Linked DNA regions of Homo sapiens: region 2 is linked to region 1. Evidence: promoter capture Hi-C in human tissues and cell types (Jung and others, 2019). All regions are on one chromosome and are shown on one strand. The core of a region is centred on a gene start or on the middle of the fragment in contact, and the rest is flanking DNA. Distances in the headings are between cores, read along the strand shown. Region 1 holds the start of SUMO3 (small ubiquitin like modifier 3). Region 2 overlaps PTTG1IP (PTTG1 interacting protein).

Region 1 (6,103 bases), core at 1,058-3,557:
CAGGCCCGGCTAATTTTTTTGTGGAGACGGGGTTTCACCATGTTGACCAGGCTGGTCTCGAACTCCTGACCTTGTAATCCACCAGCCTCAGCATCCCAAAGTGCTGGGATTACAGGCATGAGCCACCCAGCCCAGCCCTGACCTTTCCTCTCTTAACTTCTCCATCATGGGAGAGTCCTGTGACTTTGTCTCGCAGTTCTTTGCGTCCTCAGCCAGGACCCCTCTCCTAGTCACATGTGGGTCGAGCTTTCATGTCAGCAATGCTGTTACTCATTTGCCAGTTCCCTGCCTTCTCATGAGTCTTCTTGTTGGGACCATCGCCAGGTGTGGCGACCCTCCGGAGGGGCTCTGGCCATTTGGGTTCTTTACCCTGTGCTCGTGGTAGGCCACGGTTTTTCCTGAGCTCTGGTTCCTCCGTCCATTCGATCCCCTTTGGCTGTGTCCTTCAGAAACCTCTTGGCGTTCGGTCCACCAGCGGTGTCCTTTGTGTCCCCACAGCTGCGACAGAGCCTTTTTGCATCTTTGCTGTCACATGAAGGATTCGGGGCAGGTCACAGTGTGGGAGACAGACACAGCATGAATTGAATTCAGACCACCATTGTCTTATAGCCTGGCTTTTTAAAACCTAATGTCATCTGAGCCTCTTTTTCCCTTATCCATGACTGTAGTCACGCATCACTTCGTGACACAGCAACTGGCGTAATTTCGAGCGGTAACACATTTGGGTTCTGTGTCTCATGATTTCTAAGCTGCGTGTTTCTCACTTCCACAACACTGAAGCGGGCTGCCGTCATCCACAGCCTGCCGGAGTTTAGTGTGTCTGTGCTACCTACGGTCGTGTTGTTTTATGATTAACGGTGTCTTGGAGTCGATAACTCTCTGAACCCTGCCTGCCCTAGGGCACTTCCAGGGCCAGCAATCTGTGGGCTCTGAGGCGCCACGTCCCCTCGGAAGGGGCTGGTTGCGGAGCCCCCTCCCAGGACCGTCTGAGCTGGCCACCCACCTCCACATCCTCTGCTGAGGCCCTGGGCTCCAGGTTCCAGAAGGAAGGGACCACACCTTATGACCTGCCTGGGACTGGGGCTGACTCTCAGACCCTCTCCCCGAAAGACTTCAGCAGCCTTCCCCCTCCTAAGTGGGGGCTCTAGCCAAGAAAGTGAATTTTTGAGTAGAAGACGGTTTGTGAAGTTATGGTCCATGAAGACTTGTCTCCATGGCTTTGCGACGTTGCTCAGTTGGCTGAGCCTTTCCCAGGCAGGACAGAAACGGCTCAGACGCTTAGGTTCAAATCCAGGCCCTGCCATTTCCCAGCTGAGCCTGAAGTGCGGCCTCCCCCGCCTTCGGCCGGGCTCACCATCAGATGAGACCTCCGCCACGCCCCGGCTGGCACCACCCGGGCACTCCTGAGGGACGCAGGGGTGTCCGCCCTCAGGTCCGTTCCATCCGAGGCCCTGGGATCACAGACATGGAGGCCGGGGCGGGCCAGGCACCCCAGGAATGGCGCCCGCAAGTCCGGGGAGGCCGTCCTGCCGGCCCAGCGCGTTTCCCGCGTCCACGAGGTCCCCGTTCCGCCGGCACTGGCGGCGTCCAGCCTGGGTTTGCCCGCGCTCGCCGACGTGGCGGCCTGGCCAAGCTCGGCGCCGCTCACCAGCGCTGACCTGGGGGTGGTTTGACCTCCCAGTGCCTCAGTTTCTTCACAGGTAAAACGGGTCTTCTTGAGGACGGGTGTGGAGGGCCCGGGGCAGCCCCGTAGGAGCGTTGGCCAAAGGAGCCCGGCCTGGGGCTGACAGGAAACCGCGGCGGCAGGGAGGCGGGTGGCGCCCCCAATCGTCTAGGGTGCTGGCCCGATTCGCGCGGCCCCCGCGGACGGGACCCCGCGGGCCGCCTTCTCCGCTCTGTCCGCGGCTCCTGAGAGGGAACGTCACCCCCAGCGTCCTCCCTCCTCCGCCCCAGGTCCCTGCGGCCATGGGCGGCGGCCCCGGCCTCACTTCCCGGCGCCCCAGGAACGCGGCCCCCAGGAAAGGAGTCGGGGCCCGGGCGACGCGGGGAGGCGGGCAAGGGTCCCCAGGGCCCGGGCTCCCCGTAAACGCTCCTGGCCCGCGCCCCACAGCGCCCTAGGGCTTCCGCGCCCGACGGGGTCGCGCGGGACCCGCCCCGTGACGCATCTCCAACCGCCCAGAGCCGCGGCCCGGCCTGCGCGCGCCCGACGCCCCGGGGAGCGCGCCTCGTGAACGCGCGCAGCCACGTGACCCCCGTGCCGGCCAACGGGTGCGCCGGGATTTGGGGGATAAAGCGCGGCCCCGCGCACAGTTGCGGCGGGAGAGCGGCGGGGCCGAGAGCGTGACTCGCCCGCTCCGCGCTGCTTCCCCCGCGCCGCCTCCCCGCGCCGCTCGCGCAGCCATGTCCGAGGAGAAGCCCAAGGTAAGCGCGGCGACCCCGCCTGCACGCGCGTCTATCGCGGGCGTCCCGCCCCCAGCCCGGCTCCGCCCCCACCCCGACTCCGCCCCGCGTCCCGCCCCTGACAGGCTCCGCCCCTCCCCGCCCTCTAGAGCCCCGCCCCTAAGTGGGCCCGCCCAAGGTGCGCCCCCTCTGCCCCCGCGAAGCGCGCTGTGCCGCGAGCTCCGCCCCCTCCGGGCCTGGCCACGCCTCCGCTCCACGCCCGTCTCCTCCCCAGCTGGGAAGGCGCGCGCCCAGCGCCTCCTTGAGCGCCCGGTGTCGGGCCCCGCGCTGCTGCTCCTGCAGAGCGCGGCGCCCTCGGATCCCGCCCCAGCAGTGTCCCCGAAGCGTCTTTGCGTGCTCCTCTCCTGAGTCATTGCTGGTTGGGGTCGCCCTCTCCCCCGGCATCGCCCTGGGTGCGGGATCCTGTGTCGAGTGCACGGAGTCGGCTCGGGAACAAGCGTCTGGGGTTACCCCCAAGGGGCGCGCTCTGAGGGGCCTGGCCCCTGTGAGCAGCACTGCCGTCCTTCCAGGGCGCCCATCGCGACCCCGGTATTCACCCACTTCTCCGCATCGTGTCCCGGCCATCGCGTCCCCCAGTGTGCGCCCACCCCTCTCCTTCGTGTCTCCCCAATCGTGCCCTCAGTGTGCACCTACTCCCACCCATCGCGCCCCGTGTGCACCCACCGCCTCCATCGCGTCCCCCGGTGTGCGCCCACCCCTCCCCATCGCGCCCCCCGGTGTACGCCCACGCCTCCCCATCACGCCCCCCATGGTGTGTACCCACTCCTCCCCATCATGCCACCTGGTGTGCGCCCACCCGTCCCCATCATCGCGTCCCTGGTGTGCGCCCACCCCTCCCTATTGCGTCGCCCTCTCCATCACACCCCCAGTGTGTGCTCACCCCTCCCCGTCGCGTCCCCCAGTGTGCGCCCACCCCTATCCATCGCGTCCCCCTTTCCATCACACCCCCAGTGTGCGTCCACCCCTCCCCATCACCCCCTCCACGATGTGCGCCCACCCCTCCCCATCACGCCCCCTATAGTGTGTGCCCACCCCTCCCTATCACGCCCCACGGTGTGCGCCCACTTCTCTGCATTGCGCCTCCCCCACCATGCGCGCCCACCCCTCCTTATCCAGCCTTGGGTGGGCTTTAGTCTCCCCCATTGCCATGCTGGGGTGTGCCTCCCTCCAGTCTCAGTCCTGGGGTATGCACCCTGCATTCAGGTGCACTGGCCATTCCTTCTCGGGAGGGTCTGTAGTCGCATTCTCCAGTGTTCATAAAAAGAGAACCTTTCCGAAGCCCTTGGTGTGCACTGTCGGCCTCTATGTTACATCCCAGTGGAAGATGACTAGAGCTGAAGGCTCTGTAAAGAGGCTGTCTCTGATACTGGCCTGGTCCTGGAGGTGACCACCCTCCCTTTACAGATGAGGGTGGAGGCTCAGTGCCAGACACTGGCGGGAAGTGGGATGGAACCGTCAGGAACCATGGTCGCGGCCTCTATGGAAGTCTGCACTCTGCTTGCTGTGGTCAGACTCCAGGGAAACCTGCCCTATCCAGATGGCATTTGGGGTGACCTTTGCTTTTTACATTTTGACTCCAGTGAAGTCAAAGTTCTCCCACTCTGGGGTTGTTTGAATATTTAAATACTTGTTAAAACTAGGTCAAATATAAATGTCCTTTATGTTTTTGTAGGTGGCTTCCTCTTAATGAAGAGTAAATGTAATAAAATACATATGATATTAATTTTCTCAGCAGTATTTACACTTAGCTCTGCCATGTGGTCAATCTCAGGCTCCAGTTCCGTTGAAAACACTTGTTTAATTCCAGAATGACTGAGTGGCTGCCACCTCACAGGCCCCGCTTCTGGTGGGTCCCCTCTGAGCCCATGTGGGAGCAGCTCTGCCCTCTGGGGCTCTGACGAAGGGGAAGAGGTGGACTCTGGGGCCCGGTGGTGCTGGAAAGAAGAGCTTTTAGGTCAGGCAGGAGAATGGTTCTGACTTCCCTGGATAGCTGAGGTGGAGGATTGACTGTAGCAAACTGAGGCCCATGTTTTTAGGGCTTCACTTTTTAACTCACGAGTTCACTTGCTTATTAGGAATTCACCAGGGGTCTGGGACAGATCGTCATTCTGTTTGGAGCAGAGGCACTGTGGCCGGCCCTGCCCTGCCCCAGCCTCTCCCGGGGCTGCAGCCATTCCCCCCGGGGCTGCAGCCATTACCCTGTGGGGGACGTCTGGGCCCTGCATCTGTGCCTTTGAACACACTCATACCTTCCTTCCCTAAAGAAGCCAGTGCATCCTCATGCTTGGGGAAGTGAAGGGGGCTCATGCAGGGGTCCCCACTTCCATCCTGCCTGGAGCTGTTTGCATGCTCTTCCTTCCTAGGCCAGTTGTCTCTGTGCTGGAGGCCACATTCGGGATGGGGAGATGGGGGTGTGCCAGCTCACCACTCAGGCTGCCGCCAAGCCACTGGCATCCCGGGAGTGGGCAGGGGTGTCTGGCCCAAGACTGGAGTCGGGGGGTGAGTGCCGCCCCAGGACACGCACCTTCAGGCTCGCAGCTGGAGCCCCTCACTGCCAAGGCCCCTTGCAGGCCACTCTAGCTCCCTTGACAGAGCACCATGCCTCCCCAGGGTCTCCCCAGGGTGCATACCCCAGGGAAGCAAGCATGGGTGCAGTCCCTGGGTTCACCCTCAGGCGAGCCTTCTACATCCCACTCCCTGTATTTAGGCATCGCTGGGACAGTTGTCCCTCTCCCAGCCAGGGAAGGAAAGGAGAAGTGGAGAGAACAGGCGTGTGATGTACAGTGCTTCCTGAGGGCAGCAGCTCAGCATGGGGTGAAAGGGTACCAGGACGCCCCAGACTTGACTTTCAGAGTGAGCCGGAGGGCCCTGCCTCATTGCTTCACTCACAAACGACTTTATCCCAGCAGTGCAGGCCGGCAGAGGGGTGCCCCACTTTTCGGCTCAGACTGAGCTGCCCCGAAGTTGGCTCCCAGTCTCTTGACATCAGCTTTTTGCCTCAACTCAAAATGCATTTTCAGGCAACAAGACACCCCGATTGTGCCATTGTTGAGTAGCTTCAAGTATGGCATGAATTAAAAAATAAAATAGTACCACCTACTGCCGCTCAGATAGGACAGTTTGAAACCAGAAAGTACTCGGAGGTGGCTTCCCTCACATTTGCTGATGTCAGGGCAGCGAGAAGGAGCCTGGCCGCCTGCTGTGGGGAGTGGCCGTCCTCAGTTGGATTCCCGAAATCACCACTTGAATGTCCCATAGGGTTCCTCTGAGTCACAAATGTTTTCTTCTGTTTTTGGTTTCTTTTACTAGTGCTGTATAGCTGCATGACTTTTGGATATGTGTTTTTACTGGTTTCATAAGAATTTTTTAAAAAAGAGATGGGGTCTTGCTCTGTTGCCCAGACTGGTCTCAAACTCCTGGGCTTACGCCATCCTCCCACGTCAACTCCCAAAGTACTGGGATAACAGGTGTGAGCCACTGTGCCCAGCCCACAAGAATAACTTTAAAATAAAGATGGATTTTCTCTTATTTTTCCCTAGACTTTGTTTTTTTCTTTGAATTAACAATGTCAGAGGACCCTAGGCTTGCATTGTTTTACACATGGATGCTTAACAAGTGGAAGTTAAAAATAAATTCTGTGTAA
Region 2 (6,622 bases), core at 2,025-4,524, 40 kb before region 1:
AGAGATGAGGCGTTGAGGGGGAGGTTGAGCCTTTACAGCCATCCACAGAGCGATGGCAGCACTGGCGGGCTGTGGGCAGAGCCTGGACAGTTCTTTGGTTTTTCTGTTGTTTCTAATGCTTGCTTAATGTTGGTCTCTTTCAGTGTCTTTGGTGCAACACTAACAAGGCTTGTCTGGACTACCCAGTTACAAGCGTCTTGCCACCGGCTTCCCTTTGTAAATTGAGCTCTGCACGCTGGGGAGTTTGTTGGGGTAAGTCATTGTTTTCATTTGCTGCTTGCAAAATCGATGCTTCTTTGAAAATAGTAGTATGGGCCGGGCGCGGTGGCTCACGTCTGTAATCCCAGCACTTTGGGAGGCGGAGGCGGGTGGATCAAGAGGTCAGGAGATTGAGACCATCCTGGCTAACATGGTGAAGCCCCGTCTCTATTAAAAATACAAAAATTAGGTGGGCGTGGTGGCATGCACTTGTAATCCCAGCTACTTGGGAGGCTGAGACAGGAGAATTGCTTGAACCCGGGAGGCGGAGTTTGCAGTGAGCCGAGATCGTGCCACTGCACTCCAGCCTGGCGACAGAGCGAGACTGTCTCAAAAAAAAAAGAAAATAGTATTATGTGCTCAGTTAGCAGAAGTTGCTAGAAAATGTGCTGCCAGTAGCTCTGTGACTCCCAGGGAGAGGTTGGGAAGCCAGGGGTGATCTGCTGACCGGGAAAGCAGCCCTGGGGAACCTGGAGGACCTCCTTCAAGGTGGTCAGCCCCAGCACTGAGCTCTATCTCACCACGTTACAGAAGGTGTGGGGAAAAGGGTGAGTTTGAAGGCAACGTGTTTGACTTCTCTGCTCAGTATGTTTTGTTCATGTGTCACCCCTGAAACTCACCTGTGAATTCCCCTAGAATCTCCAGTTTTCCCAGCTTAAGAATCCCTGCTTGCGTAGACAGCCCTCTTTTTTTGTGTGCGTATCTTTGTATATTTGATTTTGGAGGCGTTTTTAAATTAAGGAAATCAGCTCTTGTGAGATTCAAGTTGTTTTCTAGTTTGCCTTTATTTATTTATTTATTTATTTTTGAGACGGGCTGGAGTGCAATGGCACTATCTTGGCTCACTGCAAGCTCCGCCTCCCAGGTTCACGCCATTCTCCTGCCTCAGCCTCCTGAGTAGCTGGGACTACAGGTGCCCGCCACCACGTCCGGCTAATTTCTTGTATTTTTTAGTAGAGACGGGGTTTCACTGTGTTAGCCAGGATGGTCTCGATCTCCTGACCTCATGATCTGCCCACCTCAGCCTCCCAAAGTGCTGGGATTACAGGCGTGAGCCACTGCGCCCAGCCCCGTAGTTTGCCTTTTAAATCAGTTTGTGGTGTGTTTTGTAACCTAGAACTCATTATTATGTAGTTGAATTTATTAATCTTTTAGGCTTCAGGTTTTGGGGTAATACATAGGGTTCCTAAACTTTGTAAAGAAGCAATATTTTCTTAAGGTGTTTTGATGATTCTTTTTGTTTATTTGCATCTTGGATCCCTCTGCAACTTACGTCTTACTTACCACTCTTCTAATTGATTTCCATTTCAAAATCTATCAGCCTCCATCTGAAACAACTTGTTGCTGGTGTTGAGGCCCTAGAGAATTCAAAAGTTTGTGTGGTGGTGGTGGTTGTAGTGTGGGATGTCTGGCAGGGGGTGGTGGTGGTGTGTGTGCACCTTCATGTGTGATGTGTGTACTGTGTGTGATGCATGTGTGTTTGTGAACTCATCCCTTCCATGGAACTTCTCTTAATGACCACTCTGAAGACACAGCTCCTGGACCTGGGGAGCCTTGCCCTTTGGAACACCTGTTCTGGAGGTGTTTTTAATGGCATGTAGCTTCTCATGAAGTGCACACATCTGAAGTCTCTCTCTGCATGGACTTTATAGCCTACATAATGCACACATGTGTGCCTGCATGGACCGCAGTTTATAGCCTACATAATGCACACGTGTGTGCCTACATGGACCGCGGCTTATAGCCTACATAATGCACACGTGTGTGCGTACATATATTCAGTGCATTTTTGCATACGTATACAGGTTATCACCACTCACAGCAAAGTAGGTAGGACTTCCAGGACTTTCAGAAGGCCCAATTCCTGTCAGGACCCCCATGGGAGCCACTGACTGGACTTCCCGTCACCACAGATTAATGTTACTGGTTCCCGCCTTTATGTGGAGGAAATCCTGTGCTTTATTGGATGTTTTATTCAGCATGTGCCCGAGATTCGTGTCAATTGCCTGCACCAGTTATCTTTCTCGTGCAGTGTTCTACAGCTGTTCAGCCATGCTGCCACTCAGGGACGCCTGGGTCCTTCTGGTGCTGCTGTGAGCGGTGTTGTGTTGGTGCCGGCACAGGCGCTCACGTCTGGAGGAGTGTAGGGGTGGAGTTGCTGTGTCACGGAGCATATTTGTGTTTAGCCTTAGTACGTCTGCCAAATGTTTTTGGAGTGGCTGTACCAGTTTGGCCTCCCTCAGGCAATGTGGGACTTGGTTGCTCCACATCCTTCCCAATGTTTAGGGTAACCAGTCACCCTAAGTTCAGTCCATCTAGTGGGTGTGTAGTGGTGTCTTGTGCTTCTCACCTGCATTTCTGCAGTGACTAGCCGATCGTGCTGAGCACCTTTACAAGTGGTGGGTGTTTTTGACAATTCTCTTGTGAAATGACATCCCCACGCTAGGCTGCAGAAGTGGATGGACACACAACACCCAGCCCTGCACATGAGAGCGGCAGCAGGTGACTAGTCACAGTCACAGTGGGGAGGGGGCACCACACGCCACGCAGGGTCCCGCAGGGGAACAGGGCTCGGGGAGGCAGCCATTTCGTGACAGGAGGGTGGGGTGCGATGGGCTTGTTTGGTTAATTCTGAGGCTGAGAGGGAACTGACACCTGCTCCTCCGGGAGAAACAGAAAGTGTGCCTGGCCCTGCCGGGAGGAGGAAGAGGCTGTCTGAGCTGGGACCTTGTCCAGCCTTGCCCACGGGAGCAGAGTGGGGAGGAGCAGTTGTGGCCGGGCCCTCAGGGCCCTCCTGATTTCACCAGATGCCGCGGCGCACATGATACCCGTTTTAGGTCTTGCACCACAGGTCCTTGTTTATTCTTACAGGTAACCTTAGAACCATTTTATCCAGTTCTAGCCAAAATTATTTTGGAGCTTTAATTGTAATGGCCTGATAAACATGCTTACTTGAAGGAAAATGAAATGTCTACAGCGTTGGCCGTTTGTCCAGAGGCAAAGATGCCTCTCTTTCAGGCCTCTCCCACATCCTTTGGTTCAAGTTCAAGTTCATGGGTTTTACCCTATGGAATCAGCAAAAGGAGCCCAGAGTTTGTTTCCCATTGTGACAGGATTTCTGTTTGTTTTTAACTAGTTTTAGCTGCTAATCAGAAAAGCTATCTGAGGGGTAGATATGTTTTAAGGCCAGCCATCTTGTTGATCTCATTGGAGTTCTCCAGTCAGAAAATGACATCTTCTGCCAATGAAGGTCCCCTCTGTAGTTCTCCCTCTTACTATAATTTTTGCAATTCTACGCTTCCAGAACAGGTCAGAGGAGGAAAAAACACAGGATTAAAAGCTCAAAAGGCATTTGATCAGATGTAACCTCCTATTCCTGATTTTCAAACTATTTTAATAAACTAAGAAATGCGGATCTCAGCGTCCGGGGCAGCAGAGGGGTGAGGCTGCGGGAGCCCCAGAGGCCTGGCCGTCGGCCTCCTTGCCAGGGCCCAGGCATGCAGCAAGTGTTCAACTCCCAGCCCCTGGAGGTGAGACGGTGTCACCTGTGGTGGTGGCACAGCTATTAACTGTAGTTAAAAACAGTGAATCATGCGGTAATCTACTGCCCAGGGGAGTTTGCTTATAAAGCCATCTTCAGGAGGCTGGCTGGGTGTTTTTTGTTTGTTTCAAGATGGTGTCTTGCCGTGTTGCCCGGGCTGGAGTGCAATAGTGTAGGCACGGCTCACTGCAGCCTCAACCTCCCAAGCTCAAGCGATCCTCCCACCTCAGCCTCCCATGTCGCTGGGACCAGAGGTGCATGCACCACACCCAGTTAATTTGTTAAACAGTTTTGTAGAGATGGGCAGGGCTGGGTCTCACTTTGTTGGCTGGGCGGGTGTTGAACTCCTGGGCTCAAGCAATCCTCCCGATTTGGCCTCCCAAAGTGCTGGGATTATAGGTGTGAGCCACTGTGTCCAGCCAAGGAGGCTGTTTGAACTACATGATTGAAAACACATTTGCAAAAGTAGTTTTAGGGTATTTTTTAATTGCCTCTGGTTTGAACTGAATGGAAAAATCTTGGCTGATTTCAATGTATAGATCTTCAAAAGAAGTTTAAAAGGATAGTAAGATCTGTTTTAAATGTGCACGTGTGTCTGAAGGCTGGTTAAGGAAATCATAACAGGGTTTGGGACCGATTAGCCAGCCGTTCTTCAGCCCCAAGGTCCTCAAAACACTCAGATTTGAAGATGATCCCGTCTTGTTCCGTGGTCTCGTCCGCTCCTCCACGGTCATTCTTTTCGAACCTGGCCGCCAGTATGTGCCCTGAGAGTCTATTTCTCTTGTAAATCATTGTAATATTCTTGACTTTGGTTTAAATAAAAAAAAAGAAAGCTGCATCAGGCTTAACCTCCATTTCTGTGAGTTTAGAATGTCTTACGAGAGTCTGAGTATGTAGCTTGGAATTTTGGTTAGTTAACTTTTCTCAGGCTTGAAATACCTTTTCAAACTCAGCTGAGACAGACTACCCTGTCACTTCAGTTCATTATGGTTAATATTATAAATTGTTAATAAATTCTAAGTCACAGATAGGAACGTGTGGCTGAAAGGAGACTTGGAGAGGGCGGGACCCTGTGGGGTGGAGGCAGGGCCACAGGCTCTCCACACGCCAGGAGCCAGCAGCCTGGCCGAGGCGGCTTTCCTCCTTATGCTCCTGTGTCCTGAGGTTGTTCCCCAGGGGCGAGGGAAGGCTGCTGTGCTGGGTGGGTTCTGTGTCTGGGGCGGCCCTAACTCCAGGTGCTTGAATCTCCAGTGAACTTTGAGGCGCTGATCATCACCATGTCGGTAGTCGGGGGAACCCTCCTCCTGGGCATTGCCATCTGCTGCTGCTGCTGCTGCAGGAGGAAGAGGAGCCGGAAGCCGGACAGGAGTGAGGAGAAGGCCATGCGTGAGCGGGAGGAGAGGCGGATACGGCAGGAGGAACGGTGAGGTGGTGGTGATGCCCGCTGGGAAGGTTACTTCGAGGGGATTCAGATCTGCAAGGCCATGGAAATCACATGGATACATCCTGAGTTTTCCTCAGTTTTTAGAAATTAAGAATGTGTATAGTGCCCAGGGGATCTTCTAGGTCGTGGTAGAGAGCGAGAGACTGTGATGGGAACCTAGCAGTGGCTGCGAACCTTGCTTCTATAGGCTTCCTCGCCCGGTGTCCTCCCATCGGTGCAGTAAGGCTGAGTCTGTGCGCGGTGACACGGGTGTGTGACGGCTGCTAAGGCGGCTCGTCCAGGCCCAGCATTTGCCAAGAGCAAGCTGAGGCTCAGAGGGGACAGCGTCTGACTGTGGCTGGGTCAGCTCTCCTGTCGCCCTTTCCCTGGTGACACAGCACTCTCCTGAGTGCTTGCTGGGGCTCTGGGGCAACCCCAGGAGGAGGTGGTGTAATCCACACCTGGCAAAGGAGAGGACCTGAGGGGCCAACTGTCAGGTTGGCGGCGGGCGAGGGTGGAAGCGGGACAGATTTTCCATGTAGTCACCTTGAAGTCACATGCTACTAAGTAAAAGCTGACAATCGCATTTTCCTCACCATCTTCAGAACCTGGTGTATGATTTTTACTGTGTTTTCTTTGTATGAAAAAAGCTTTTTAAAAATCACGGTATTGGGCATTTGAATTGCTTTTATTGAAAAGAGTAGAGTAATACATTGGAACGGCCTTTGAAGACTGGGTTCGTTGTCACCTTGCCTGTCCTGGTGGGTATGTGGCCTGATGACCAAGCTTGTCCTCACCCTGGTTTCACTCTGGGAACTGGAGGGAAGCCACCAGAAGAAACCTGGCGCCCCCACTGAGGGACACGGAAGGGCGTGTCTAGCAGTTACACCACCGTGCGCTGTCGTTTGGTGCTCATAATGTTCCTCTGTGTTTTAGGAGAGCAGAGATGAAGACAAGACATGATGAAATCAGAAAAAAATATGGTAAGGACTGGTCACGCCTCCTTTTTGTCTGGTTGGGAGGCGATGGCACGCTGTCTCGGTCCTCGTTAGTGCCAGTGTGGCCTGAGATGGGGCTGTGGGTTCACCCATCGGAACAGAAGGACGTCTCTCCAGAGAGGAGCAGCTGGCGGTTGTCCCCAGCGGTTCTGTGGTGAACTCACTCCTAAGAATATCTTTATCTCAGCCAGTCGTCTTCATGAAGTCTGTTTTCTCAGATAGCTGTTTGCTTATCGAGTCCCAAGACTTCTGGGCTGGAAGTCTGCAGCTGTTCTGCCGTCGTGTTTGGCTTCCTGTGGGCACGCCTGCGTAGCCGAGGTGCTGTGAGTTTCAGGGCGGCCCTCTCATCCTCGGGAGCGTTGCTCGTTGCCATCTTCTGAGTGTGGCAGGCGCTCCTTCCAA

What was found. The method cuts DNA at HindIII sites, captures the fragments that hold promoters and counts their contacts. A contact is called where the count stands out against the background at its distance.
Region 2: a contact is called between a fragment that was not itself captured here and the fragment with the promoter of SUMO3 in region 1, in 2 of the 25 tissues and cell types used here (aorta and spleen).

Annotation. Positions count from the first base shown.
Region 1 is chr21:44,814,266-44,820,368 of GRCh38, reverse strand. It overlaps SUMO3 (small ubiquitin like modifier 3), which reads left to right and starts at 2,307. Exons shown (of 4, transcript NM_006936.3): 1 at 2,307-2,421. The coding sequence starts at 2,401. RefSeq lists silencers at 1,696-1,795, 1,816-2,395, 2,576-2,775 and an enhancer at 4,455-4,969. The HindIII fragment of the contact is 28,474 bases long and covers 1-6,103 here.
Region 2 is chr21:44,854,793-44,861,414 of GRCh38, reverse strand. It overlaps PTTG1IP (PTTG1 interacting protein), which reads left to right. Exons shown (of 6, transcript NM_004339.4): 3 at 144-252; 4 at 5,051-5,222; 5 at 6,159-6,205. Among named protein-coding and RNA genes, the nearest start is that of PTTG1IP, 16 kb to the left of the region's middle. The HindIII fragment of the contact is 9,171 bases long and covers 1-6,622 here.